7 separate regions of the Homo sapiens genome follow, and regions 2, 3, 4, 5, 6 and 7 are each linked to region 1. Evidence: promoter capture Hi-C in human tissues and cell types (Jung and others, 2019). All regions are on one chromosome and are shown on one strand. The core of a region is centred on a gene start or on the middle of the fragment in contact, and the rest is flanking DNA. Distances in the headings are between cores, read along the strand shown. Region 1 holds the start of RAB11FIP3 (RAB11 family interacting protein 3). Region 2 holds the start of RHOT2 (ras homolog family member T2). Region 3 overlaps LUC7L (LUC7 like). Region 4 holds the start of WDR90 (WD repeat domain 90). Region 5 holds the start of WFIKKN1 (WAP, follistatin/kazal, immunoglobulin, kunitz and netrin domain containing 1). Region 6 overlaps FAM234A (family with sequence similarity 234 member A). Region 7 overlaps RAB40C (RAB40C, member RAS oncogene family).

What was found. The method cuts DNA at HindIII sites, captures the fragments that hold promoters and counts their contacts. A contact is called where the count stands out against the background at its distance.
Region 2: a contact is called between the fragment with the promoter of RHOT2 here and the fragment with the promoter of RAB11FIP3 in region 1, in 2 of the 25 tissues and cell types used here (IMR-90 fibroblasts and thymus).
Region 3: a contact is called between a fragment that was not itself captured here and the fragment with the promoter of RAB11FIP3 in region 1, in 2 of the 25 tissues and cell types used here (lymphoblastoid cells and spleen).
Region 4: a contact is called between the fragment with the promoter of WDR90 here and the fragment with the promoter of RAB11FIP3 in region 1, in 5 of the 25 tissues and cell types used here (IMR-90 fibroblasts, dorsolateral prefrontal cortex, lymphoblastoid cells and 2 more).
Region 5: a contact is called between the fragment with the promoter of WFIKKN1 here and the fragment with the promoter of RAB11FIP3 in region 1, in 3 of the 25 tissues and cell types used here (dorsolateral prefrontal cortex, mesendoderm cells and small bowel).
Region 6: a contact is called between a fragment that was not itself captured here and the fragment with the promoter of RAB11FIP3 in region 1, in 7 of the 25 tissues and cell types used here (dorsolateral prefrontal cortex, hippocampus, liver and 4 more).
Region 7: a contact is called between a fragment that was not itself captured here and the fragment with the promoter of RAB11FIP3 in region 1, in 2 of the 25 tissues and cell types used here (dorsolateral prefrontal cortex and lymphoblastoid cells).

What each region holds. Positions count from the first base shown.
Region 1 is chr16:423,075-426,898 of GRCh38, reverse strand. It overlaps RAB11FIP3 (RAB11 family interacting protein 3), which reads right to left and starts at 1,250. Exons shown (of 14, transcript NM_014700.4): 1 at 179-1,250. The coding sequence starts at 892. The HindIII fragment of the contact is 17,968 bases long and covers 1-3,824 here.
Region 2 is chr16:666,882-669,409 of GRCh38, reverse strand. RHOT2 (ras homolog family member T2) reads right to left here and starts at 1,278. Exons shown (of 19, transcript NM_138769.3): 1 at 1,174-1,278; 2 at 999-1,057; 3 at 841-922; 4 at 711-754. The coding sequence starts at 1,210. It overlaps WDR90 (WD repeat domain 90), which reads right to left. Exons shown (of 41, transcript NM_145294.5): 40 at 2,421-2,505; 41 at 1,580-1,978. The coding sequence ends at 1,821. RefSeq lists silencers at 811-900, 1,001-1,100, 1,161-1,500 and an enhancer at 886-1,567. The HindIII fragment of the contact is 52,780 bases long and covers 1-2,528 here.
Region 3 is chr16:191,426-195,249 of GRCh38, reverse strand. It overlaps LUC7L (LUC7 like), which reads left to right. Exons shown (of 10, transcript NM_201412.3): 7 at 2,235-2,323. Among named protein-coding and RNA genes, the nearest start is that of HBQ1, 13 kb to the right of the region's middle. The HindIII fragment of the contact is 8,652 bases long and covers 1-3,824 here.
Region 4 is chr16:647,267-651,090 of GRCh38, reverse strand. It overlaps WDR90 (WD repeat domain 90), which reads right to left and starts at 1,726. Exons shown (of 41, transcript NM_145294.5): 1 at 1,665-1,726; 2 at 1,237-1,328; 3 at 924-1,100; 4 at 729-837; 5 at 382-552; 6 at 1-96. The coding sequence starts at 1,674. It overlaps MCRIP2 (MAPK regulated corepressor interacting protein 2), which reads right to left. Exons shown (of 5, transcript NM_138418.4): 3 at 3,547-3,674; 4 at 3,207-3,308; 5 at 2,617-2,971. The coding sequence ends at 2,901. LOC105371038 (a long non-coding RNA gene) reads left to right here and starts at 1,778. Exons shown (of 2, transcript NR_135177.1): 1 at 1,778-2,136; 2 at 2,476-2,633. RefSeq lists silencers at 1,352-1,481, 1,592-1,691 and enhancers at 867-1,689, 3,112-3,161. The HindIII fragment of the contact is 7,525 bases long and covers 1-3,824 here.
Region 5 is chr16:629,024-632,847 of GRCh38, reverse strand. It overlaps WFIKKN1 (WAP, follistatin/kazal, immunoglobulin, kunitz and netrin domain containing 1), which reads right to left and starts at 1,863. Exons shown (of 2, transcript NM_053284.3): 1 at 1,424-1,863; 2 at 1-266. The coding sequence starts at 1,594. RAB40C (RAB40C, member RAS oncogene family) reads right to left here. Exons shown (of 6, transcript NM_021168.5): 6 at 3,580-3,824. RefSeq lists enhancers at 1,770-2,504, 2,685-2,979, 2,505-3,238. The HindIII fragment of the contact is 11,828 bases long and covers 1-3,824 here.
Region 6 is chr16:242,158-245,981 of GRCh38, reverse strand. All of the region lies in intron 1 of FAM234A (family with sequence similarity 234 member A), which reads right to left. Among named protein-coding and RNA genes, the nearest start is that of FAM234A, 9.2 kb to the right of the region's middle. The HindIII fragment of the contact is 7,678 bases long and covers 1-3,824 here.
Region 7 is chr16:599,894-603,717 of GRCh38, reverse strand. All of the region lies in intron 1 of RAB40C (RAB40C, member RAS oncogene family), which reads right to left. Among named protein-coding and RNA genes, the nearest start is that of RAB40C, 12 kb to the right of the region's middle. RefSeq lists an enhancer at 3,636-3,824. The HindIII fragment of the contact is 6,657 bases long and covers 1-3,824 here.

The sequences.
Region 1 (3,824 bases), core at 1-2,500:
AGCGCAATTCAACCAGAAATCCAGGGCCGAAGTGGTGAATAAGCAGAAAAAGCAGGACCGTCAGGTCTTGACAGTGCCTTTCCCGACTCCAGGGGCAGCGTCGACCGGTCCCACATCAACCCCGCCGGCCAGCGCGCACCTGCCCAGTTCCCACGCCCCGGCCCGGGCCGCTCCGTACCTGCTCTGCCCCGTAGACCGTAGCAAACTGGATGAAGTCCTCGATGCGGACGAAACCGTCCCCATCCCCGTCCAGGGCATCGAACACGGCTCGGAGGCGGGGGCCGTCCTCCTGACTCCCCACGGGCTCGCTCGGAAGGGGGTGGGTCTGGCTGAGGTCCGAGGGCTGCGGCGGGGACCCGGGACCTTGCTCCAGCGCCAGCTCGCCCGCCGTGGGCGCGGGGAAGGGAGAGAAGACGTCGACCTCGCCCCGCGCTCGGTGGCTGCTGCTGGACCCCTGCAAGCGGAAAGGCGCGCTCTCCGGGCAGCTCGCGGGGCCACACTCCTCGGGCTCCTCAGTCCAGGAGAACAACGGGTCGAGTTCTGGAAGCGGCGCTTCGGAGCGCGGCCCTGGGCCCGGGGCGTCGGGGCTCGCAAGCTGCCCCCGCGGGCCGGAGCGCGGCGGCGGGGCGGACGGCCCGGGGTCTCGCGGGCCTCCCTCCAGCCCCGGGGCCGGCCCGGCGCTCCAACGCGCCCCGCCATCTGCAGCGGCCCCGGGCGCAGGCTCATCCAGGCCCGGGGACTGCGGGTCGGGGCCGCCGACGGGCGCTCCGAGGCGTAGCTCCGCAGGGCCCGGAGCCAGTTGTGCCGCCCCCGGCCCGTCCGGCCCGCCCGGCTCCGGGTCGGGCCCCGGCGGCTCCGAGCCCGGGGGCGAGGCCGGCGGGGCCGACGCCATGCTCCCGAGAGGCTAGTGGTGCGGAAGGGCGCGGGCGGCAGACAAAGGCGCTCAGGGCGCGGCGGCGGGCGCGGGCATCCCCTCGGCGGCGCGGGCGGGCGCGCGCGGGGCGCCCGGGCTGCTGGGGCTGGCGCTCGGGCCCTGCTCTGTCCTCGCCCATCTTCGCACCGCGCCTCAGCTGCCCTCGGCCCGGCGGCGCGGCGGGCGCAGGCCCATGGCGGCGGGGCGGCCTAGGGAGGGCGGCGAGGATCCGGGCGGCGGATGGCGGGGGACGGGGGCCGAGGAGGCCGGGGGACGGGGGCCGAGGAGGCCGGAGGCCGCGGAGCCTGTGAAGCAGGATGAGGAGACTAAGGAGGCTGAGGCGCCTGAGGTACCCGGAGAACTAACGCCGCCGCCGCCCAGGCCCCGCCCCCCGTCGGGCCTGACGTCAGCACGTCCCGGCGGGGTCCCAGCCCCTCGCCGGCTTGCTGTAGAGGCAGGCGCCGGGTGTGTCGCGGCAGTGCAGCGGCCGCGAAGGGGTGTTTTGCTGTATGTCATATTCCTCGTTTCGCCAGAGCGGGGGTCCCGAGCTTCGGGCGCGGGACGCGGGGGTGCTCCGAGGCTGCGAGTGGAGGCGTGACGTGACGTCCCTGGCAAGAGGCGCGCGGAGTCAGGCCTTACTTAGAACGTGTTCCCGCCGCACAGCTACCAGCGGGCGCGACCGCTACCCACGCATGGTGCGGTCGAGTAAACGGCACCGCCTGGCGAGCGAGAGACGCAAAGGGACATAGCCCCCTAGGAGCTGAGCTCTTCGGGGGTAAAGCGTTCTCACGTTGATGAGACCAGGAGGCGGCGCACGCCTGGCTCCGCGGCCCAGGGGTTGCAGGTGCCCCAGGGTTCGCGGGGCGCAGACGCCGCAGAGGGCGACGCCCTGCCCGGGTCCCGCGCGGACCCGGGGGACGCAGGGTCTGACACGGAGTGCGGAGGGGCCCCAGACACGCAGTCCATGTCCCTTGAAACCAGAGGCACGCGCGGCCACGCGCTAGGCCTTTCCCTTAAGCCTGTGACCAAGATCTCCGGGACTCCCAGCGTTGGGACGGGCGCGCTGGCCCACGCCCAAGCGGGAGGATCGCTTGCGCCCAGGAGATTGAGACCAGCCTGAGCACCAAAGCGAGACCTCGTCTCTACAAAAAATAAGACTCAAGAAGACACCCAGGGTGAATCGCCCGTCTGCAGCCAGCCTCCCGAGCACCGTGGCCGCGTCTGACAACTGACCTCTGTGTCTGGGTGTCCCTGTCCTCAGAGGGACACGGGACCTCAGAAAGGACCACAGCCCGGCGGCAGGCATGATGGTGGGAAAGCTAGTTAGGACAGGTGAGGCACTAAATTTAGCCTGTCATAATTTGTATCAGGGAAATGATGAACTTGTATTTTTACACACCATGGGCACCAACACAAGATATGGTTTCGTAAGCAGCTTTGGCAAGAACCAAAGGAACGGAACCTCTGCTTCCAAGTGTACGGTCAGGAGCAGCGTGTTAATTAAGTGAGTCATCTTCCGTGGCAGAATCCCAGGGTACATGGGACCAGACTTCGCGAGGCTGGCATTAGGAAAAGGAATGTGAGGGATCCTCCTCCCCAAACCGTATTCTCATTTTCTTGTAAGAGCTGTACGTGTTCATGAGGAAGATACTGCATTCAAAGAACGAAATCACCAGCAGCTTTGGCAAGAATTCAAATTTGGGCTGATGCCTTCGGCCGGATAAAATTTTCAGAAGCAGTGATAGTGATGTGTCAACCTTTCTAAATAGGGGTGTTAGTGTGGGCGAGGCAGAGACAGCAGGCTCCCTCTGCTTTTATGTGCCGGCGCTGCCAGAGGCAGAAGGCTGGCTTTCTGAGAGCAGGGGCCCGCACGCTCTGTCTGTGCTAGGGCTGGAAAACGTCCATTGCGTGCCCGGCTGGTGTCCTCCATGGAACCACAGCCTGGAAGCCTGCACCTCCCTGCCTGGACCAGTTAGAGGCTGTTCATGAAAGACTAAAGGGACAAGTTCCCGTCTATCCGTCTGCTGTTCAGAGCTACTATCTGTGTCCCCTTTGTAGGCTGTGGGCTGTAGCAGTTCCTTCTTTTCTTTTCTTTTCTTTTTTTTCCCCGAGACAGGGTTTTGCTCTGTTGCCCAGGCTGCAGTGCAGTGGTGCGACCATAGCTCACGGCAGCCTCAACCTCCTAGGCTCAAGAGATCCTCCCACCTTAGGCCAGGTGTGGTAGCTCATGCCTGTAATCCCAGGACTGTGGGAGGCTGAGGCGGGCGGATCACGAGGTCAGAAAATGGAGACCATCCTGGCTAACACGGTGAAACCCCGTCTCTACTAAAAATACAAAAAAACAAAAATTAGCCAGGTGTGGTGGCAGGCACCTGTAGTCCCAGCTATTTGGGAGGCTGAGGCAGGAGAAAGGCGTGAACCCGGGAGGCAGAGCTTGCAGCGAGCCAAGATTGCACCATTGCACTCCAGCCTGGATGATAGAGCAAGACTCCGTCTCCAAAATAAAAAATAAAAATAGAAGAGAGATCCTCCCACCTCAGCCTCTCCAGTAGCTGAGACCACAGATCTGCAGCACCTTATTATCTTTTTTTTTTTTTTGATATGGAGTCTCACTCTGTCGCCCAGGCTGGAGTGCAATGGCGCGATCTCTGGTCACTGCAACCTCCGCCTCCCGGGTTCAAGTGATTCCCCTACCTCAGCCTCCTGAGTAGCTGGGATTACAGGCGTATGCCACCAAGGCCGGCTAATTTTTTGTATTTTTAGTAGAGACCGGGGTTTCACCATGTTGGTCAAGCTGGTCTCAAACTCCTGACCTCAAGTGATCCGCCCACCTCGGCCTCCCAAAGTGCTGGGATTATTGGCATGAGTCACCACACTTGGCCTCAACATGCGTTTTGGAGGGTATAAACAT
Region 2 (2,528 bases), core at 29-2,528, 240 kb before region 1:
AGCCTTCCCTAAAACCTGCCTCCAGCCTGGTGTTGGCAGAGCAGGCACTCCCCAGTGTCACACTGGGAGCTGCTGCTGAACCCTCAGAGAAGCCTCTTCCCCGCCCACTGCCAGTGCAGGGACACCAGGCCCCAGAAGCATAACTGTGGTCAGCAAGACCCTTGGAGCAGAGGGCTCAGGACAGACACGGCCACACCTGCAACCCAACACCCTGCAAGACAGCCGCCGCCTTGGCCCCTGCCTCCCCCCTCGCTACAGACAGAGTGACAGGACCGCAGTGAGGGGTGCCAACAGCAGGGGCTGCCCTGGGTGGCTGTGGCCTGTGCCCTTGCCTGGAGATGTCCCCGGCACACGTGCTCTGGTACTGGGAGCTCCGGGTGCCCGGAGGCCGGGACGGTGGGCTGGAGCACACAGCACGGGGACGTGGCGCACACAGAGCCCACAGGAAGAGCAAACGCTGCTGCCACCCCGGCAGGAGGGAGGGAGAGCCCGCGGGGAAGGGTCCTGTTATCCCTGGAGCACCACTGGACTGAGCGGTGCCGGCTCCCAGCGGGGTGCGCTGTAGGGGCCCCGACAACCCTCAGTGCGGAGGTCACAGAATTATCAGGGCCAAGGACACCCGGAGCACCTCGGTCCAATCCCCCAGGCTGCGAAGCGGATTAGGCCGAGCCCGCGCCCAGCCCCTCCCTCGTCCCGCGCACCACGGGTACCTTGTGGATCTCCTCCCGCAGCTCCTCGTCCGTCTGCTCGGCTTCTAGGGGGACAAAGAGACTCCACTGCGGACCCAGCAGGCCCGCCGGACCGCTGCGGGCCGGGCCCCCGGGAGGCTACGGCCGCTACCTGAGTAGTCCACGATGTGGGTGGGCACCTTCTCCGGGGTGACGTCCGCGGGGATGGTGATCTCCTCCGCGCGGGGAGGGACCTGCAAGGGACCCGCGCGCTCACCAGGGACCCCCGGCTGGGCCCGCTCCCACCCCCGCGGCGGGCGTGCCCCTTACCTCCTCGGGGAACTCCTCGCCCACCAGGGACAGGATCAGCGACGTCTTCCCCACCTGGGCTGCGCGGGGCGAGGCGGTCAGCGCGAGGGCCAAGGTCACGGCGCCCCCCGACCCCCGAGACCCTCACCCCGCCTCACGGCCGCCGCAGCTCCGAGACCCCCGGGCCGGCGCCTACCCTCGCCCAGTAACAGGATGCGCACGTCCCGCCTCATAGCTGCCGCCCGGAGCCGCTCCCCGACCCGGAACCCGGCCCCGACCTGGTCCTCAAGCCTTTCGCTCTGCCCCCGCGCCCGCCCCGCACTTCCGGTTCTCGGCCCCGCGCTGTCCCCACACTTCCGGCCCCGCCCGCACAGCCGCACCAGCGAGCCGGGCGGGCCAGAGCGGACAGGCTGTGCGGCGCGCCACCGTGTGGACGCGCCGGCCACGGCGGACAGCGCAGGGTCCTGGCGCCCTGGCAGGCCGAGCGGCCATTGCTTCACGGCACCACAGGGGCCTTGACAAACAGCCGATTAAGGGACGGGCAGAGGCTGAGCTCAGGCCAGGAGTGACCAGAGACAGCCAGTGCAACAATGCAGCAATAATGCAATAAATGCCCATGTTTATTACAAGATAGAAACATTAAAGATTTCTTAGGCAAAAGGGCAACAGGTATGAAAGTATTCACAGGGCGCCAAATTTACAACAGCTTGCTCCAGGCGATTTACGTGAATCCTGGCCTGTCCCAGCATGAGGCCATTGACAACCTGGCGCCTCTGCCAAGCCTGTGTCCAGGTGCCTGGCATGACCAGGCGTGATGCCCACCACCACAGTCCCTGCTGCATCTCAGAGGCCGGGGACCTCCCACACAAGGATCTCGTTGCGGGCGGCCGTGAAGAGCAGCCTGGCGGACGGTGTAAACCTGCACAGGTGCACTGCGTTGTCGTGGCCGGCAAAGTCTTGGGCAGTCCCCATGGCACAGTCTACCAGCCTCAGCATGCACTCTGTGGGTAGACGGTGCAGGTGGGCCAGGGCCAGGACCAGGCAGCACTCAGAGGGCTCCCCCAACCCACCCAGACTGTCCCCACTGGGCATGATGCTGGTCGGGGGAGCTGGTGCTAAAAGGGCTCCTGGCTGTGCCCTCCACGTGCCACTGGGACTAGGGGGTCCATCACTGCCAGGCTGTCGGCCTGCAGCTGGGCCAGTTCCCTCCTTAAAAGTCGCTGCCACCCGTGCATTCAGGCCCTGTGCTGGGCGCTGTGCCTGGTTCCTCACCTGCCTCATCATCTCCTGACTCCAGGACCCTCTCTAGGGCAGATGTCCTCACCCCACCCCAGAGACGAGGAGCCCGGGGCACAGGTGAGGCACCTGTCTTGGAACAGGGCACCAGTCAGCCCACTTGGCCCCCACCTAAGACAGGCCCAAACTGCATCCACCAGCACTCACCAGCAAAGCCAACAGCCAGGAGGTGGGTCCCGGGGGACAGGCTCAGGGACATGGCAAAAAAGGGCAGTGGTATCTTCTCCACCACCTGTGAGCAGCCAGCGTGAGGCT
Region 3 (3,824 bases), core at 790-3,289, 230 kb after region 1:
GTCTTACTATGTTTCCCAGGCTGGTCTCAAACTCCTGTCCTCACATGATCCTCCCAGTTCAGCCTCCCAGAGTGCTGAAATGGCATGAGCCACCGTACCTGGCTTAAATGCCATCCTTAAACATCACCTTAAAGGTGTCCATCCATGTGTGCCCTGCTTCAGACACAGGATGAGCATGGGTGAAAGTTTAGAGCTGGAGATACCAGTCACCCAGCTCTGCATACTTTCCGTGCCCTTGTGGGGAGCGTGCTCTCATCCACACTGGGTATGGAAGATTATCCTTATGCCATCGTGGCTCTCTGGATGGAGAAGACTCGTGATTCTTTGTCTTACTGGCTCTGACTTGCTCCCACTCAGGGCTTCACTTGACACAGATGAGGGGCATTAAATGTCTTAGAGTTGATATTGGGAGTAGTGGGTATACAGAACGGTGCCCGGTGCTTTTCCACTCAGCTTGTGTTGACGGTATTTTCATTGGCGAGGTTTCTCATCCCCTTATATTGCTTTCTTCATCAAGCCTGATGATTCACATCATCCTGTGTTGAAAGCCAGTTGCAGAGGATTTGTGGTCCACCTCCCCTGGCCTGCTGTCCTCCAACTCAGTTTGTTCTAAAGCCAGCGTAGCACCCAGCACCCTGAGGTTGGGCTGCTTTTTGGCTGTAGGGATTCTGCTCCCAGTAGCAAGATGTGTTTGATGAGATACATCCGTCCTTTTTTACCATAAAGTTTGTACAGTCTCCTACCTATCTGGGTTGGTTTGAAACAATGTGATCAATTCCCTGTGAGTTAGAAGTATAGCACCACTTAGAATAGACAGTTTGTTACCACATTGTTAAAATCTAATGATAGGCTGGGTGGTTCAGGCCTGTAACCCCAGCACTTTGGGAGGCCAAGGCAGGAGGATTGCTTGAGTTGAGGAGTTCAAGCTCAGCCTGGGCAACATAGCAAGATTCCATCTCCATAAAAAATGTTTAAAGATTAGTCTGCCATGGTGGCACACGCCTATAGTCCCAGCTACTCAGGAGGCGGAGCTAAAGAGGCTTGCTTGAGCCTGGGAGGTCAAGGCTCCGGTGAGCTGTGATTGCGCCACTGCACTCCATCCAGCCTGGGTGGACAGAGCAAGACCCTGTTTCAAAAAAAAAAAAGTGGCCAAGCGCGGTGGCTCATGCCTATAATCCCAGCACTGTGGGAGGCCGAGGCGGGCGGATCGTGAGGTCAGGAGATCGAGACCATCCTGGCTAACATGGTGAAACTCTGTCTCTACTAAAAATACAAAAAATTAGCCGGGCGCAGTGCCGGGCGCCTGTAATCCCAGCTACTCCGGAGGCCAGGACAGGAGAATGGCGTGAACCCGGGAGGCGGAGCTTGCGGCGAGCCGAGATTGCGCCACTGCACTCCAGCCTGGGTGACAGAGCGAGACTCCGTCTCAAAAAAAAAAAAAAAGTAAATGTAAACGAGGCCGGGTGCAGTGCCTCACGCCTGTAATTGCTGCACTTTGGGAGGCCGAGGCAGGCATATCACAAGGTTAGGAGTTTGCGACAAGCCAGACCAACATGGTGAAACCCCGTCTCTACTAAACATACAAAAATTAGCCGGCCGTGCTGGCACGCTTGTAATCCCAGCTACTCAGGAGGCTGAGGCAGAAGAATCGCTTGAACCCAGGAGGCAGAGGCTTCAGTGAGCAAAGATCGCGCCACTGCACTGGGCAACAGGGCGGACTCTGTCTCAGGAAAAAAAAATGTAATGATAAAGCATTTTTTCATGTGTTATCTTCTTCATTAAGAAGTTTTAAAAATGAATGTGTTGGCCGGGCGCGGTGGCTCATGCCTGTAATCCCAGCACTTTGGGAGGCTGAGGCAGGCGGGTCACAAGGTCAAGAGATCAAGACCATCCTGGCCAACATGGTGAAACCCCATCTCTACTAAAAATACAAAAATTAGTTGGGTGTGGTGGCATGTGCCTGTAATCCCAGCTACTTGGGAGGCCGAGGCAGAAGAATAGGTTGAACTCGAGGTGGAAGTTGCAGTGAGCCGAGATCACGCCACTGCACTCCAGCCTGGTGACAGTGAGACACCGTTTCAAAGAGAAAAAAAAAAGTATTCCCATTTCCTAAAAGTGTCCCTTCAATTTTTAAATTACCAATACTGAGCTCATATAAAGGTGATTTGTTAAGTAGCATTCACACTCTGGTTTGTGTAACTTGCTCTTCCTCATTTTTTGTTTCATTTATTTAGAAAACTGTCGCTGAAAAGCAGGAGAAGAGAAATCAGGATCGCTTGAGGAGGAGAGAGGAGAGGGAACGGGAGGAGCGTCTGAGCAGGAGGTGAGCCTGAGGGCTGGCACTGGATGGCCTGCATTGGCCTCGGGCATTCCCTGCTCGGTCCATTCCACTGTTGCTTGGAATAGGCAGGGCCTGCCCAATAGGCCGTTATAAAAGAAAATAGTAAGGCCAGGCCTGGCGGCTCACGCCTGTAATCCTGTCAGTTTGGGAGGCTGAGGCGGGCAGAACACTTGAGGTCAGGGGTTCGAGACCAGCCTGGCCAACATGGTGAAACCTTGTCTCTACTAAAAATACAGAAATTAGCTGGGCGTGCTGGCATGAGCCTGTAATCCTAGCTACTCGGAGGCTGAGGTGGGAGAATCACTTGAGCCCGGGAGGCAGAGGTTGCAGTGAGCCGAGATCGTGCCACTGCACTCTAGCCTGGGCAACAGAGACTCCATCTCAACCAAAAAAAAAAAAAAAAAAAGTAAACAGCATATTCAGTCCAACAAAACAAAACAAAACACGTCCCAGCGCAGGACTGTGTGTGCATGGCAGTCAGGTAAGGGATCCAAGCTGTTGGAGGCTGTGTGTGGGCACTGCTGTTTACTTACTGAGTGCTATGGGGCCATTGGACACCTGTTTACGCAGGAGGGGTGGTGCCTGCTCCCCTTTGGCAAGCGTGCTGGGCTGGAGTAGAAGCAGCAGGACCTTGGGGAGCTAGGTGGGAAAATCCAGATGGAGGAGGTGGCAGTTTAAGCCAGGTAAGGGGTGCAAGGAGTCGGGGAAAGTTCTGGGATAGAACTGATGGGATTTGCTGGTAGTGTGTGAAGCGTGCAGAGGAGGAAATGAAGCTGGTCTCCTGGTTTCTGGCCCGGAGTTGCTGCTTGGTGAGGTTGGAAGGCTGGGTGTGGTGTATTGGAGTGGGAGGAGGTGGGAAGTAGAAGATGCCTCTGGCCACACTCAGCTTGAGAGGCCATCTTGAGGTGGGGCTGTTGAGTCTGTTTGGAGTTCAAAGAGGTAGGAGCCAGAAGTATCCACATCCTCCTGGAGACAGCTCATTGTCCAGGAAGGTTCCCAAACCACTTTTCCTGAAATAATTCCTCAGTGCATAACTCAGGGCGAATGTTTATTGTGTTTGTTTTTGAGACAGGGTCTCGCTCTGTCACCAGGCTGGAGTGCAGTGGTGCGATATCGGCTCACTGCAGCCTCCACCCCCTGGGTTCAAGCGAGTCTCCTGCCTCTGCCTCCCAAGTAGCTGGGACTACAGGCCTGTGCCATCACGCCCAGCTAATTTTTGTATTTTTAATAGAGACAGGGTTTCACCATGTTGGCCAGGCTGGTCTCGATCTGTTGACCTCATGATCTGCCTGCCTCAGCCTCCCAGAGTGCTGGGATTACAAGCGTGAGCCACCACGCCCGGCCGTTTGTTGTTTTACCAGCAGGAGATTCTGATTGGAGAGAAACTTAAACAGTATAGAAGAAAATATTAAGCAAAACACACAATCCATTTTTTGCATGGAGTTTACATTTTTACATGCACTGTCATGTTTAGGCCATTTGT
Region 4 (3,824 bases), core at 477-2,976, 220 kb before region 1:
AGCGGTCATGCCAGCTCTCTCCCTTGGGCACAGGGAATGCCATTTCCCGAGGCATAGGAGTCACGGGCAGCTTTGCCCACTGGGCCCCAGAGATGGCTACAAGGAGCAGGGTTGTTCCAGGTCAAGGGAGGCTGTTTAGCCACCTGAACACAGGGCACCCGCCAAGGCACTGCCACGCCACCAGCCCAGCCACCGCCCCACCCCAGGGCTGCCTCTGGGATGGGTTCTGACCCCAGGGCTGCCTCTGGGATGGGTTCTGGCCAGAGCTCAGAGACAGCACAGCTCGAGCACTGTATTTTCCCAAGCACCCTGGACTTGGGCCTCTCCAGGGCTGAGAGCATGGGTGAGATATGGAGTGGGGAGTGCAGGTGCGGCCCTCACCAGGCTCAAAGCACAGGTCACTGGTGTACAGGTTCCTGACCAGCAGGCTGGCGCACAGCCTGATGCTCTTGAGATGGCCGTAGCACCGGTTCAGGTAGACCAGGAGAACGTCCTGCAGATCGAGCTGCAGGCAGGTCCAGCGGGCTCCGGAGGGGGCCAAACCCACCAGATCTGCAGGATGGGCACTCAGGGTCAGCGCCCACCCTCCTGACAGCCCGCGACTCCCAGAACTGTGAGCTTGTGCCCCCGCCAGGTTGTCCTCCAGGCCGCAGAGGAGCCTCACTGGGCCTGCACCAACTCCCTCCAGCCACCTGTCCTGGATCATCCACACCCCATCTTGGTGTCACCTCTCTGAGGTGTCCTGGCCTCCAGGACCAAGGGAAACTGGAGCCACGTGGCCGTAGACTTAAACTCCTTGAAGAGGTTGGAGAAAGACACACGGATGACTTGGTTGTCCTGTGGGGACGGAGCAGGGCCGTGAGGAGACAGGGGCCGCAGGGGTGCCGGGGCTCCCACGCAGCCCCCAGCCGCGGGCTCCGTACCTTGGAGGACACATCGAGGTGGATGACGAAGTGCTTGCTGGGCAGGGGCCGAAAGAGCACATACAGGTATCGTCCCGTCAGCCCCAGAGACTGGGTGCTGCTCTTAGGGAGCTGGATGTAGTTGGCGGCAGAGACTGAGCCCCGAATGCGATACACGGCGCCCTTCAGGGTCTTGTCCTGGAGAAGCGGGAGCCCGCATCACCGACAGCACCCAGAAGAAGTGCAGCGGGGGCGAGGGGGCCCTCGGGGGCGGGGCAGCTCTCCTGGGGGCAGGGCAGGGGTGTGGGCTCCGGGCGAGCCCCCGGCCGCCTACCGTGACCACGGCCACGTCCCCCTGCTTGGCGGAGCGCTTCCACTCGTCCACCCGGAAGTGTCTGAAGACGTTGAGGAACGGGTGCTGCCACGCTGCGGGGAGCGGGCGCCGGGCGTCAGGGGACTCGGCCACGCGAGCCGGGGCCACTGCGGGGCTGGGCCGGGCCTCGGGGACCAGGCAGGAGCCGGGGCTCTCCGCGCCTTCCCCGGCGACGCCAACGCCAGCTAGGCTGGCGGGACGAGGCCGGGCGCCCGAGGGAAGCCAAGCTCCGGGAGCCCGAGGGTGGGCGCCCGGCAGACGGGACCCTGCCTGAGCGGGGACTCTGGCCTCAGGGCCTAGGCGGGGGCCCTGAGCGCTCCGGCCGCCGACCCTGGACCCCGGAACCCCGGAACCCGGGATCCTCGGGACCCCCGCCAGCCGCGCGCTACCTCGGGCCATGGCGCCGCCGCTCGAGCTTCCCGCCTAGGCCTCCGCGCGCCCAGCGCAGAGTACGCCCCGCGACGCCAGGCAACGGCTGCCTGGCAACGGTGCCACTTCCGCCATTACTTCCGCCGTCATGGCGGCGCCCTGGCCACGTGACCTCCCCGGTGGGAGTACCCCGCTCACGTCAGCGGCCTCCAGGGTTGCTCCAGCCGCGAATCCCGCTGCCCTTTGCCCCGCGGGCCTCCCAAGGCAGCCCCCTGTTAGCCCGACCGGCTTCGAAGCCCGCGCCGGTTGCGGATCCTCCGCCGCGCCCACCTGTCAGCGCCTCGGCCGGCCGGGGCTCCCGCCGCATGCAAGCAGCGAGGCGAGGTCGCGCTGAGGCCTGGCCATGCCACGGACGGCCGGGCCTCACCCTGCCGCTCTCTCGCCGTCCAGAGGCCCCTGCTCCACACCTGGGTACCCTGGGTCCTGACTCAGGTGGGCTGGGTCATCCCCGTCCATCAGGGAAGGTAGTGCGGGCGCCCGCGGAGGGGCTGGTTCCCACGTTCGTCCTATCAGGTTCCCCACGTACTCCTTCGCCCAGTGTCCTGCGGCCGGGCCCGGCGGATTCAGAATGGGACCTGGCGTTCTGAGACACAGCCCCAGTGCCGGTAGTGGGGGGTGGTGGACTGCACTCCGGGGCCATTTAATGTCTTTAGGCCTTGAGTCTCGGCTTCGGTCCCAGTCAACGCCAACGGGAGAGGAAAGAGGAACCAAGTGGGGTCCCCAGACTTCCAAGCAAGGTGGGCTGGCTAACGTCCCTCCTACCTGTCGCAGGGCAGCTGGGTGAGAAGCTAACGGCTTGAAGGAACAGGGCTACAAGGGGAGTTTGTGCTGGGCCTGGCGTCCCAGGCTGTGGACTGGAACTGGACATGAGAACCCCCCCTACACCCTCCCAAGTCAAAGACACTCCAAAAAGACAGTTTCTCCACTTTATTAGCCTGGAGCTCCTCCCTGCCAGCCCCAGGGGCTGGTCGCTGGTCCCTGGGCACAGTGAGCAGGGCTGAGGTCAGACGGGTTCGGCCCTTGGCCATGGCAGCTTGGTTGGGACAGCCGGGCCAAGGGAAAAAAAGGTGCAAAAGTCCAAATGCTGGCACTTCAGGTGTGGCCGGCACCCAGCCAGGCGCAGTGGGTGGGCAGGGCGCCATGCTTCTCTCCTGGCGACAGGTCGGCCGTGTAGCAGCGCCCCCTCCCAGCAGCCACTAGGAACAGCTGGTGATTCTCGCCAGGAACTGCTGCGCCCACCACTCGTCTAGGTCAATGGGCACAAAGTCTGTGGGCAGAGAAGGCTGGGCAGTGATGCTGCCTCCCAGGCCAGCCGGCAAGTCTCCCCTGGAGCTAACCACAAGCCGCTCACCCGGACTCCGAGTGCGGCAGGCGCTGGGAAGAAGGGGTTTCTGCACAAGAGTCCCCTCCCTCATCCCCTGGGGTGGGAACCTGGCAGGGCCTGGGTCAGGATCAGAGGGGCTGGGGGGTCTCTCCTGGGGGGACAGGGTTGGGGGGCTCACTCTGCAGCCGGGGATTGGGGGTCCTCTCCACGTACTGCACAGGCCTTGGCCCGCCCTCACCGGCTGGGCCACCATCCAGCTGCTGTTGCACCTGCTGCCAGGCTGTGGGAGGAGGGCAGTCGGGCTGAGCCAGGTCCCAGGCACCCCATCGCCCACCCAGGGCCTGATGGTCACCCTGGACTCCAGCCCCACACAGGGCTGGTCACAGGACACAAGGGCAGAGTGCCAAGGAAAAGCACAGCCATGCAGCGGCTGTGGGTCAGCTTGAAGTGGGGCCATCCCGGGTCCATGGTTTTGCGACCCAGCAGCCTATGCCGCACCCTCTGGCCCCGCTCGCTACCTTCGGACACAAAGCGGACATTCTCCTCGTGGGCCACTGTGTAGGTCTCCTGGGTCCCCTCGAAGGATGGGGACGTGGAGGGGGCCCGCCGGCCATTCACACGATTGAACACAAGCCTTGGCCCTGGACTGCAGGAAGGGAGGAGACGGACATGGTTGGTGCCCATCCCAGGTGCGGTGCTGCCTGGCAGAACTCAGGAGCAGCCCCGGGCCAGCCCACTTTCCCCAGACTTGGCCAGCCTAGGCACTTCCTGAACCAGAGAGAGCAGCCACCCACAG
Region 5 (3,824 bases), core at 614-3,113, 210 kb before region 1:
CAGGCCTCGGCGTCCATATAGCAGCGGTTGTAGTAGGTGAGGCCGTCCGAGGCGCAGGTGAAGCTGGGCTCCTTCTCACAGCGGTCGCGGCAGCGGCACACGGGCTGCCCGTCCCAGATGTCGCAGTCCGAGCCCTGCTGTGGGCACACAAAGCCCTCGCAGGAGGCCGCTGTCGTCGGCGCAGCTGGGCTGCCGGGGAAGCGTGCTGCCACGCAGCTGTGCAGTCCACACACGTTGATGCAGCACTTCTCAGCAGCCGCACAGTCCTGGGGATGGGGGACACTTAGGTGGGAGCCCCAATGCCCCCCGCCCCGGGGCTCTGGCCTGGCCCCTGCAAGGGGAGGCCCAGGTGGGGTAGCAGGGAGCCCCCCGCTCTGTGGCTGCCTCCCCGGGGACTCAGTGTCCTTTCCATCCTGTGTGAGGAGCCACCTCGCCAGAGGTGCCACCTGGCTTACCTTCCAGAATCCTCACACCCACAAGCAAGTTCCGTTATTCTTTACGTTGTACAGACGAGGAAACTGAGGCCCAAGGAGGGCGTACAGTGCTCAGGACCACCCAGCAGGTGGTGCGGGCCAGGACAAAGGCTGGACATCGGCTGCAGCACCCCCACCACCATCTGCACTGGTCCCGGATGGAAGGAGGGTGGGAGGACAGGGAGGACAGTGGATGGAAGGAGAGGGTGGGAGGAGAGGATGGAAGGAGAGGGTGGGAGGAGAGGATGGAAGGAGAGGCAGTGACGGGGTGGGAGAAGAGGATGGAAGAAGTGGATGGGAGGAGTGGATGGGAGGAGTGGATGGGAGGAGAGGGTGGGAGGAGAGGCAGTGAAGGGGTGGGAGAAGTGGATGGGAGGAGAGGATGGAAGGAGAGGCAATGACGGGGTGAGAGAAGAGGATGGAAAAAGTGGATGGGAGGAGTGGATAGGAGAGGATGGAAGGAGAGGCAGTGATGGGGTGGGAGAAGAGGATGGAAGAAGTGGATGGGAGGAGTGGATAGGAGAGGATGGAAGGAGAGGCAGTGACGGGGTGGGAGAAGAGGATGGAAGAAGTGGATGGGAGGAGTGGATGGGAGGAGAGGGTGGGAGGAGAGGATGGAAGGAGAGGCAGTGAAGGGGTGGGAGAAGTGGATGGGAGGAGAGGGTGGGAGGAGAGGGTGGGAGGAGAGGCAGTGACGGGGTGGGGGTGGTCGCCGAGGATGATGGTGCCCCAGGGTGGAGGCACATGGGGAGCATGAAAGCTGGAGTGGGGAGGGCTCTTATTCTTAAGACAAATGAGGGCAACGATGGGGGTGTCTCTGGGCCCCTTAAGGGGCCCAGACCCAGACCCCCCAGAAGTCTGGGGAGCCCAGGCAGAAGGTGGCACCTCCAGCAGGGTCTTGCCCAGGCTGGCTGCTCTGAGCCCCAGGACCCCGGCCCGACCACACTCACCTGGTCCCTGCTACACTCGCGCTCACAGGTGCTCTGGGCGTCCACCCACAGGTTGGGGCTGAGCTGGTTGGGGCACACGCCCGGGTGGCTCCCCAGCCCTGGCAGCAAGCCAGCCCCCGAGGTCAGCCGGAGGAGGAGCAGGAGCGGCAGGAGTGGACGTAGGGCGGGCATGAGGGCCGCCGAGCCAGGGGGCCGGGGGGTGTGGCCACCAGCCCCTCCTCGGGCTCCACAGAGCCCAGCTTCCTGCAGGCATCCACCCTCCGGGCCTGTGGTCGGTGCCCCCACCAGGACCCCGGGGCTCCCTTTTGCCCCTGAGGCTGAAGCCTGCAGCAGATGCTTGTCCTGACACCCCTGCTGGGTGGGTAACGGGGTCTCCAAGTTCTCAGAGGCCGTCTGTGTGACGCTGGTTCCTCTCCAGCTTCAGCCTGGCCCCTCTGTCTGAACCGTGCGGGGGCTCCCAGGCCCTGGTCAGCACAGGGCAGAGGGGAGGAGGTTGGGGAGGGGCCAGAGGCCCATGAGCACAGAGCCACTGGCCATGAGGGTCACCGGGGCGGGGAAGGGCTGGCTCTGGCTGGAGAGGGGGAGGGGAGGGGACCCTGTAACCTGAACCCCTTCGTCCACCCCTGGGCTGAGATCAATCTCCTTGACGACCCTCAGTAGGGTGGGGGCAGGGCCAGCAGATCCCAGCTTTTGTCCCTGGCGCCCTCTGGACCCCAGGCTCCTATGCCATGGGGGTGGCAGGCACGGGCCCTCCCCGCAGAGCGTGGCTGACCACAGCCTGGGTCCCCCGGGCCAGGTCCAGGCTGGCAACGGTCACGTGCGGCCGAGGGCTTCACTCCGCTCCGAGGTTCCTTCCCCCCTCCATGGCTGTTTCAGGGGCACAGGGGTCTGCAGGACGCCCAGCACAGCCCGGCCTCCTCTGCTCTGCTGCCCCTGTTGGAGTGGGGCCCAACCCGGCAGGACTGCATTCCCAGAGACCCCATCCCTGAAACCAGGCAGCGGGCTTGGGGCTCAGGCCTGTCCCCAAGGCGGGGCAGGTGCAGCAGGAAGAGGCCTGTGGCCACCACAAGCATAAGAACAGCCCGAAACGCTGATGCCGGAGCCTCGGCCCACGCACCGTGTAGCCCTGGACGTGGCTCCGCGTGGGATGGCACCGCCCGAGGGAAGGCCAAGTGCAAGGGCGTCTGCAGCTGAAAAGAGCAAGTGTCCCAGGGCACCAGAGCCTTGCCCTGCCCCAGCCCCCCGTCGGCGGGGCACACATCCCCAGGCTGGCTCCTCTTCGTTGGGGAGGGCAGGGGGCTGGCCTGCCTGGTGCAGCAGGACAAAAGGCTGCCTGGAATCTACCCTTCCAAACCCTCTGTGGCTCCAGATGTCTGGGGCCTCAGGGAGTGGTTCTCTTGAGACCGGATGGGAGTGTCCCCCTGACCCTGTGTCTGACCTCTGACCCAGGAGGCAGGGTAACAGGAGCCTGGTCTGGTCAGAATGAGACCCGGAGACGGCTCCAGGCGCCAGTCCCTGCTCTACAAGGAGACTGGGGGTGGGCCCTGATAGCGTGGGGGTGGGGGTAGCTAGGCCAGACCCAGCAGCAGGCGGCTGGGCTGGAGCTGCCAGGGAGGGGCTTAAGGCCCGGACATGCCCACGAAACAGCACAGGGAGGCACCTGAGCCAGAGGCTGTGGTCTGGTCCCTGTACCAACTGGAGTGCCCCGTTCCAGCTCAGCTGTGACCTCCGGGGCGTCCACACCCCCCTGGGCCGGGCATAGCAGACACCAGATTGGCCAGCGTGCAGGCGGCTCTGCTGAGCGGGCCGACTGACTGGAGGACCTGGCCCTCTGGAGTCCTGCTGCTGTTGGGGACAGTCCGCCCCAGGCCATCTGCTGCCGGGGACTGTGAGCGAGGGCTCAGCACAGCCCAGCTGGGATTCCATCCACCGGGAAGAGGAGAATGGCCGTGACCAGGCCCAGCTGCTCCAGCCCAGCTCCAGCCCTCACTTTGAGGCGAACCCAGCCAACCGCGGCAGGTCAGCCCGGTCAGCGCAGGGAACAGCAGGCAAAACAAAGGCCAGAGGTCAGTTTGCCGGGTATGAAGCAGCACTGGCCCCTGGCACGGGGCACCGCCACTGCCAGACCCACCCCACCAGACACAGCAAAACGTGGGGACCACAGCTGAATTACATTTACTGTACAAAGAACGGTTCGGAGAGAACCAGGAATGGCGGAGTGTCTAACAGCAGCGCGGGTAGTGTTGATGCCGTGAATGCAGGACCATCCAGGTCCTCAAAGTCTGTGAGGTTTGTTCATAATCCCAAACAAGGGCCCTGCTGGCAGCAACAGGACAGGTGGGGCCAGGACAGGGAAGCTGGAGCAGGAGGCCAGTGTCTTTGGGGGCTGTGGCAGGGCCGC
Region 6 (3,824 bases), core at 340-2,839, 180 kb after region 1:
GCCCACCTAAGCCTCTCAAAGTGCTGGGATTACAGGCGTGAGCCACTGCGCCTGGCCAAAAATGTAAACATTATTTTTAACAAACATTAAACTAAAAGAAAATAGAAGAGAATGTTTATGTATTGTTAGGGAAAGTCTTGAACGCATGACCCCAAAGGTGGAAATCATTAAGAAAAACACTGATGAACTAAATATATTATGAAATGTCTAACCCAAGCTTGTCCAACCCTCGGCCCAGGATGGCTTGAAGTGTGGCCTAACATAAATTCAGAAACTTTCTTAAAACATTCACAGATTTTTTTGCAATTTTTTTTTTTCAGCTCATCAGCTATCATTAGTGTTAGTGTACTTTATGTGTGGCCCAAGACAATTCTTCCAACGTGGCCCAGGGAAGCCAAAAGATTGTTGTTAGCTCCACAAAACAAACCAGGATAAATATTCTTAGGGTTTTCACAAACCCACAAAAGAAAGGCAAGGACCCCAGTGGGGAAACAGGAAACGAATTCATAACTGGGCAGTTCACTGAAGAGCACACGCCAGTGGCCGGTGCCCAGGGGAAACACACTCAGTCTCACTCATAGACACAGCAGGACCAATGACATTAACAAAAGTTAAGCATTTCATTTTATCTGATCTTGAGACAGGGTCTCACTCTGTGGCCCAGGCTGGAGGGCAGTGGTGATCTAGGCTCACTGCAACCTCCTCCTGCTGGGTTCGAGAGATTCTCCCACCTCAGCCTATAAAGTAGCTGGGACCACAGGTGTGCATCACCGCGCCGGGCAAATTTTTGTATTTTTTGTAGAGACAGAGTTTCGCCACGTTGCCCAGGCTGGTCTCAAACTCCAGGGCCCAAGTGATCTGCCTGCCTCAGCCTCCCAAAGTGTGGGCCACGCCCAGCCTAAAAGTTAAGCATTTTAAAATGTGTTGGTGAGAATATACGATAACAGGTCTGCAGTACAATAGTCGTGGGAATTTGAAATGGTAGTTATTGGTCGAGCGCGATGGCTCATGCCTGTAATCCCAGCACGTTGGGAGGCTGAGGCGGGCAGATCACCTGAGGTCGGGAGTTTGAGACCAGCCTGACCAACATGGAGAAACCCCATCTCTACTAAAAATACAAAAAAAAATTAGCCGGGCGTGGTGGTGCATGCCTGTAATCCCAGCTACTCGGGAGGCTGAGGCAGGAGAATCACTTGAACCTGGGAGGCAGAGGGTGCAGTGGCCAAGATCGTGCCATTCCACTCCAGCCTGGGCAACAAAAGCAAAATTCCGTCTCAAAAAAAAAAAAAAAAAAAAAAAGAGGTTACCATTCAGGGAAGCAGACTTCAGGGTCCAGCCCTGTGCTATTTTTACAACATTTTGTGAATCTATAAGTAGTCCAAAATAAAAAGTATAAAATAGAAAATCAAAAGAGAAAAGAAAACCGTTAGTAAGGGGGAGTGGGGTCAGAGGTTCATGTAAGTTTTAGAGGAAGAACCAGCTTCTCCACAGGCAGCTTGGTTTGTGCCTCAAAGCTACCTTAATATGAAGCTATTTTGTTCCAAAGGCAGGAGTCCTTTTAGTGTTTTGTTTATTTTTGGAAGAATATCAATAGTGGAGTTTTGTGGTAGCCTGAAGAAATACTGAAAGAAGAGCCAAACCCCTGGCATGTTACAATTCTCCATTACAAAATAATCACCAGCTTCCTCAAAACCATCCATTAAAATCATTTTCCGACCGGGCGCGGTGGCTCACGCCTGTAATCCCAGCACTTTGGGAGGCCAAGGCGGGTGGATCACAAGGTCAGGAGATCGAGACCATCCTAGCTAACACGGTGAAACCCCATCTCTACTAAAGATAGAAAAAATTAGCCGGGCGTGGTGGCGGGTGCCTGTAGTCCCAGCTACTCAGGAGGCTGAGGCAGGAGAATGGTGTGAACCTGGGAGGCGGAGGTTGCAGTGAGCCGAGATGGCACCACTGCACTCCAGCCTGGGTGACAGAGCAAGACTCCGACTCAAAAAAAAAAAAAATCATTTTCCTTTCCACTGTGGGGAAAAAACGGATATGCACAGCATTTATAACAATACTCCCCAAATACTTACCTGAGCAAATGCCAGAGTTTAAAAGGGGTCGTCTCCAAAGTCAGACAATGTGGTGACAATGAAAATGCCCCAAGGGGTGGGAACTCTTACTGCTATACAGCCTCTGCACATGCTTTCACACCGGCCTGGCCACAGAAAAGGGGTGTGTGTTTAACACGAATAAGGCCTGTCTTTGGAAAATTAAAAAGCTGGTCAGGAATTCCTTCACAGGATCTCCAGGTAAGACTTCCTTTTTGGAAACTTGACTGAGCCACCAGAAATAGGGGTAGTTATTAAAAGCCACAACGGCAAGGCAGCCAAAGCCAGGCAGTTCATGATTCAACCAGTTTGCAAATAAAGACACCATGAGACAGGTCCAAAGATTTGCTCATCAACAGCAAGAAGATACCAATGTTTTTCTCTACTGCGGTCATTAAAAATACCAGGAGCCGTAGCCAGAGCTTCAGGAACCTGACTGGCAGAGAAAATCCCCATGGACCCAGGTCAGAGAGACTTGAGCAGGGCACTGTCCTTGCTCTACTTTAGCATCCATACCATTGACCACAGAGAGTCAGGCCATGTGGCTATTTAAAAAAACAGAAAACAGAACTCAACAAGCTAATAACCAAAAATTTAACTTCATGGCCGGGCAGGGTGGTTCACGCCTATAATCCTAGTGCTTTGGGAGGCTGAGGCAGGAGGATGACTTGAGGCCAGGTGTTCGAGACCAGTCTGGGCAACATGGGGAGACCCCATCTCTACAAAAAGTAAAATAAAATTAGGTGTAGTGGCATGTGCTTGTAGTCCCAGCTACCTGGGAGGCTGAGGTGGGAGGTTAGCTTGAGCCCAAGAGGTTGAGGCTGCAGTGAGCTGTGATCATTATCACTACATTCCAGTTTGGGCAACAGAGTGAGACCTTGTTTCAAAAAAAAAAAAAAAAGTGAGGGCTCAGAAAGAAAAGAAAATTTGTCAATACAATACGTATTAATTAAGGTAAAAGACCTGACACGGGATGGGCGTGGTAGCTCACGCCTGTAATCCCAGCACTTTGGGAGGCTGAGGTGGGTGGATCGCAAGGTCAGGAGTTCGAGACCAATTTGGCCAACATGGTGAAACTCCATCTCTACTAAAAATACAAAAAATTAACCAGGCGTGGTGATGTGCATCAGTAATCCCAGCTACTCAGGAGGCTGAGGCAGGAGAATCGCTTGAACCCGGGGGGCAGAGGTTGCAGTGAGCTGAGATAGCGCCATTGCACTCCAGCCTGGACGACAGAGCGAGACTCTGTCTCAGAAAAAAAAAAAAAAAAGGAGCTGACACCAAGAATAACTTGAAGAAAGAAAGATAAACACAATACCTCATATATGGTTATTCAAACGGATTATTCCCCTGGCCTACAGAACTATCAGTAAGCCCGCGGTGACTCGTGCCTATAAACCCAGCATTTTGGGAGGCCGAGGTGGACAGATCACTGGAGGACAGGAGTTCAAGACCAGGCTGGCCAACATGGTGAAACCCCGACTCTACTAAAAATACAAAATTAGGTGGGTATGTTGGTGTCTGCCTATAGTCTCAGCTACTGGGAAGGCTGAAGCACGAGAATCACTTCAGCCTGGGAGGTAGGGGATGTGGTGAGCCAAGATCGTACTACTGCACTCCAGCCCGGGTGATAGACCAAGACTCTGTCTCAAAAAAAAGGACTATCGGTAAACCAGCTGTCCACTCTAGGCCACTGAGGCTGCCACACCTATCTGTCCTCCAGGG
Region 7 (3,824 bases), core at 464-2,963, 180 kb before region 1:
ATGAGGGTACTGGCTGCATAGGTACATATATGTGCCAAAACTCATAGAACTGTACATGCAAAGAGGGTACATTTATTAAATAGACATCATCTCTCAATAAAATTGATTTAAAAAAATTAAACCCACAGGGCATTGATCTGCTTTGAATTTGGAGGTCTAAGGATTAGGGGACCGGATTACCCTACAAGACAGCCTGAACACATATCAGAGCCAGATGTGAAGGCACTGCCTGTCCCTGAAGACCTGGGGCTCTAAGTCATTCACGTGCGGGGCCGGCGCTCCGCATTCAATCTTCCGGCATACCACTCCCCTCGGATGTCTTCTGAGACAAGGACAGCCCACGTCCACCAACCCCACTGCAGGCAAACCGGCGCCTGCCTGATGGAGGACAGTAAAGGAAGGAAAAGTTATCTAACAAATTTCAAATGTGTCTGTGTACACCAGCATGCCAAATGTCAGAAGAAATTCTAGGGCAGTTTGTGGACTGGTTTCCTGCGAAGCTAGAGCTTTTACTTAACGCCTTAAAACCCACAACAAGCCAAAAGGGCTCTCGTGTCTACAAAGAGCAGGCACACTTGGCACAGAACACCTGGCTAAACACAGAACATTAAGAAAACAAAAAACACAGGTCTGGCCCCAGCTACTCAGGAGGCTGAGGCAGGAGGATTGCTTCAGCGCCACGGTTCAAGACCAGCCTGGGCAACACAGTGAGACCCTATCTCTTAAAATTCTCCTCTCCCATCTTTTAAGGAGCAGATCCCATAGCTCTCAGATTACTTTCAATGATTACAAATCCAGCTTAGTGTGGCTTAAACCCCAATCTCATGTCCACTTTAAGACTCATTTCTGGCTGTGCTTGGTGGCTAACACCTGTCATCTCGACACTTTGGGAGGCCAAGGTGAGAGAATCACTTGAGCCCAGGAGTTCAAGACCACTAGCCTAGGCAACATGGCAAGACCTCAATTCTACAAAAAATAATTTATTGGCCAGGCACAGTGGCTCACGCCTGTAATCCCAGCACTTTGGGAGGCCGAGGTGGGTGGATCACTTGAGGTCAGGAACTCGAGACCAGCCTGGCCGACATGGTGAAACCTCATCTCTACTAAAAAAATACCAAAAAACTAGCCGGGCGTGGTGGCAGGTGCCTGTAATCCCAGCTACTCGGGGGGCTGAGGCAAGAGGCTTGAACCCAGGAGGCAGACGTTGCAGTGAGCCAAGATCGTGCCATCACACTCCAGCCTGGTGGACAAGAGCAAGACTTTGTCTCAAAAATAAAAAAATAATTTATTAAAAAATTAGCCAGGTGTTGTGGTGCATGCCTATGGTCTTAGCTACTTGAGAGGCTGAGGCGGGAGGATCACTAGAACCCTGGAATTTGAGGCTGCAGTGAACTATGATCACTGCACTCCAGCCTGGAAGAGTGAAACTGTCTCTCTAATAAAAAAAAACAAAACCAAAAAAAAAAAAACAGAGATGACCACTGCTAATGTTGTCATATATTTCATTCCACAATTATTTTACATACTTAAGATATCAAGCATATACACTTCATTGAATAATCATTAAATGTGCCTCCAAATCAGTAGTTTTTTGTTTTGTTTTGAGAGCTGTTGCCCAGGCTGGAGTGCAGTGGTGCAATCTCGGCTCACTGCAACCTCTGCCTCCTGGGTTGAAGCGATTCTCTTGCCTCAGCCTCCTGAGTAGCTGGGATTACAGGTGCCCGACACCACACCCCGCTAACTTTTATATTTTCAGTAGAGACGGAGTTTCACCATGCTGGCCAGGATGGTCCCAATCTCCTGACCTCGTGATCCACCCACCTCGGCCTCCCAAAGTGCTGGGATTACAGGCGTGAGCCACCGCATCCGGCCTTTTTTTTTTTTTTTTTTTTTTTTTTTTTTACTTTTTTTTGCAGGGATAGGGCCTTGCTACGTTGCCTAGTCTGAACCCCCGGCCTCAGGGGATCGCCTGCCTTGACTTCCCAAGTAGCTGGGATTATAGGCGTGCACCACCGCACCCGGTCCTGTGTTGTGATGTTTTACTATTTGATAAACTTATAAGCATTCCCTCTCATGTAATTTTAGGATAACAATTCTATTTTTCATGAGAATCTCCTGTCTGAACACTGCATGCATGGCCCTAGTGAACTGACTGAGACTAGGGGAACAGTCCCAGCAACGATCACATTGCTCTGCTGACGCGGCTGCGGCGGGGACCTGCCCGGAGTCTGGCACCCAGGGGTGCTCAGCACACACCTGAGCAAACTCACACTCTGAGCCGGATCCTGGCGACCCGGGCTCTGGAAACTGACGTGTGGACACTGTTGCTCCCGAGCAGAACAGCCTTCTGCCCAGCCCACCTAGGGCAAATGTAACACCTCTAACAGGCTGGACACAGACGGTTTCTCCTGCTCTTTCATTTCAATTCAGAAAGGATGCACACTTTCAGAATGAGCAGATACTCGGTGATACAGCCTTGATGGTGTGGATAACACACAAAAAATCATAGTTTTTGGTACTACAATTTTTTAAAAGTCAAACCAGCTCCACACACACGTGGGAGCTACAGCTTCTATCTCTGTTCCAAACACAAGCAGCAGGCCCATTTACTGAACGGTGAGGAAAACTACATCAGGAGAGAAGAGCTTTAACGCTAATGACCAGGAGGTGGCTCTGCAAGGAGGCTAAGGGTCTAAATGCAGAGGCAGACAGAGGGGCAGGCTGCTCCTGGGGTGCCAGAGGGCCCCTTCCTCCACAGCAGTCCAGGAGAGCCTCACGCAGCTGCCACACACCAGGCTCTGCCACAGTTGTGACTGCCAGCTCTTCAGAAGACAGAGACTGGAGTCAAAACCTTTCTGTTTCCCCACAGGCAAAACCTGGGCAGTCACCGCTTGCTGATAATGAATTATGTGTTAAACTGTCTGTGTGACGCACGTAGGCACCAAAGCTCTTATTTTTATTTTTTTGAGATGGAGTCTCACTCTGTCGCCCAGGCTGGAGTGTAGTGGTGCAAACTCGGCTCACTGCAACCTCCGCCTCCCCAGGTTCAAGCGATTCTCCTGCCTCAGCCTGCTGAGTAGCTGGGAATACAGGTGCATGCCACCAGGCCAAGCTAATTTTTGAATTTTTAGTAGAGACGGGGTTTCACCATGTTGGTCAGAACGGTCTTGATCTCTTGACCTTGTGATCCGCCCGCCTCGGCCTCCCAAAGTGCTGGGATCACAGGCGTGAGCCACCGTGCCCATCCGGCACCAAAGCTCTTTAAAAAAGTCCAACAACAATGTTTTAAACTCGGCAGGTTAGGTGACATCCATTTCTATTACTTACACTTTGCACTTGCTACTATTACTATTATTATGACTACTATTTTGCATATACTCAATTTTTAATAAAGTAATTTAAGAAGCTGACATACTAGCTATCCCTCCCCACCAGGAGGACACAGGCTCTTCAGAGAGATGGCCGTTTCCAGGGCAGGCAGGACCCACATCTGCTGGAAGTACAGACTGTTCCAGGACACAGGGAGCTCCGGGAACTCAGGGCATAGCCCAGGACGCAGGTGCCACCTGAAGAGGCTCCAACATCAAGGGGGCCATGGGAGTCCCAAACCAAACAGGAAAGGAGTATGATGCCACAAGGGAACAAAACTTTGCAAATCCACGCTGACTGATGCCACGAGGGAACAAAACCTTGCGAATCCACGCTGACTGATGCCACGAGGGAACAAAACCTTGCGAATCCACGCTGACTGATGCCACGAGGGAACAAAACCTTGCGAATCCACGCTGACTGATGCCACGAGGGAACAAAACCTTGCGAATCCA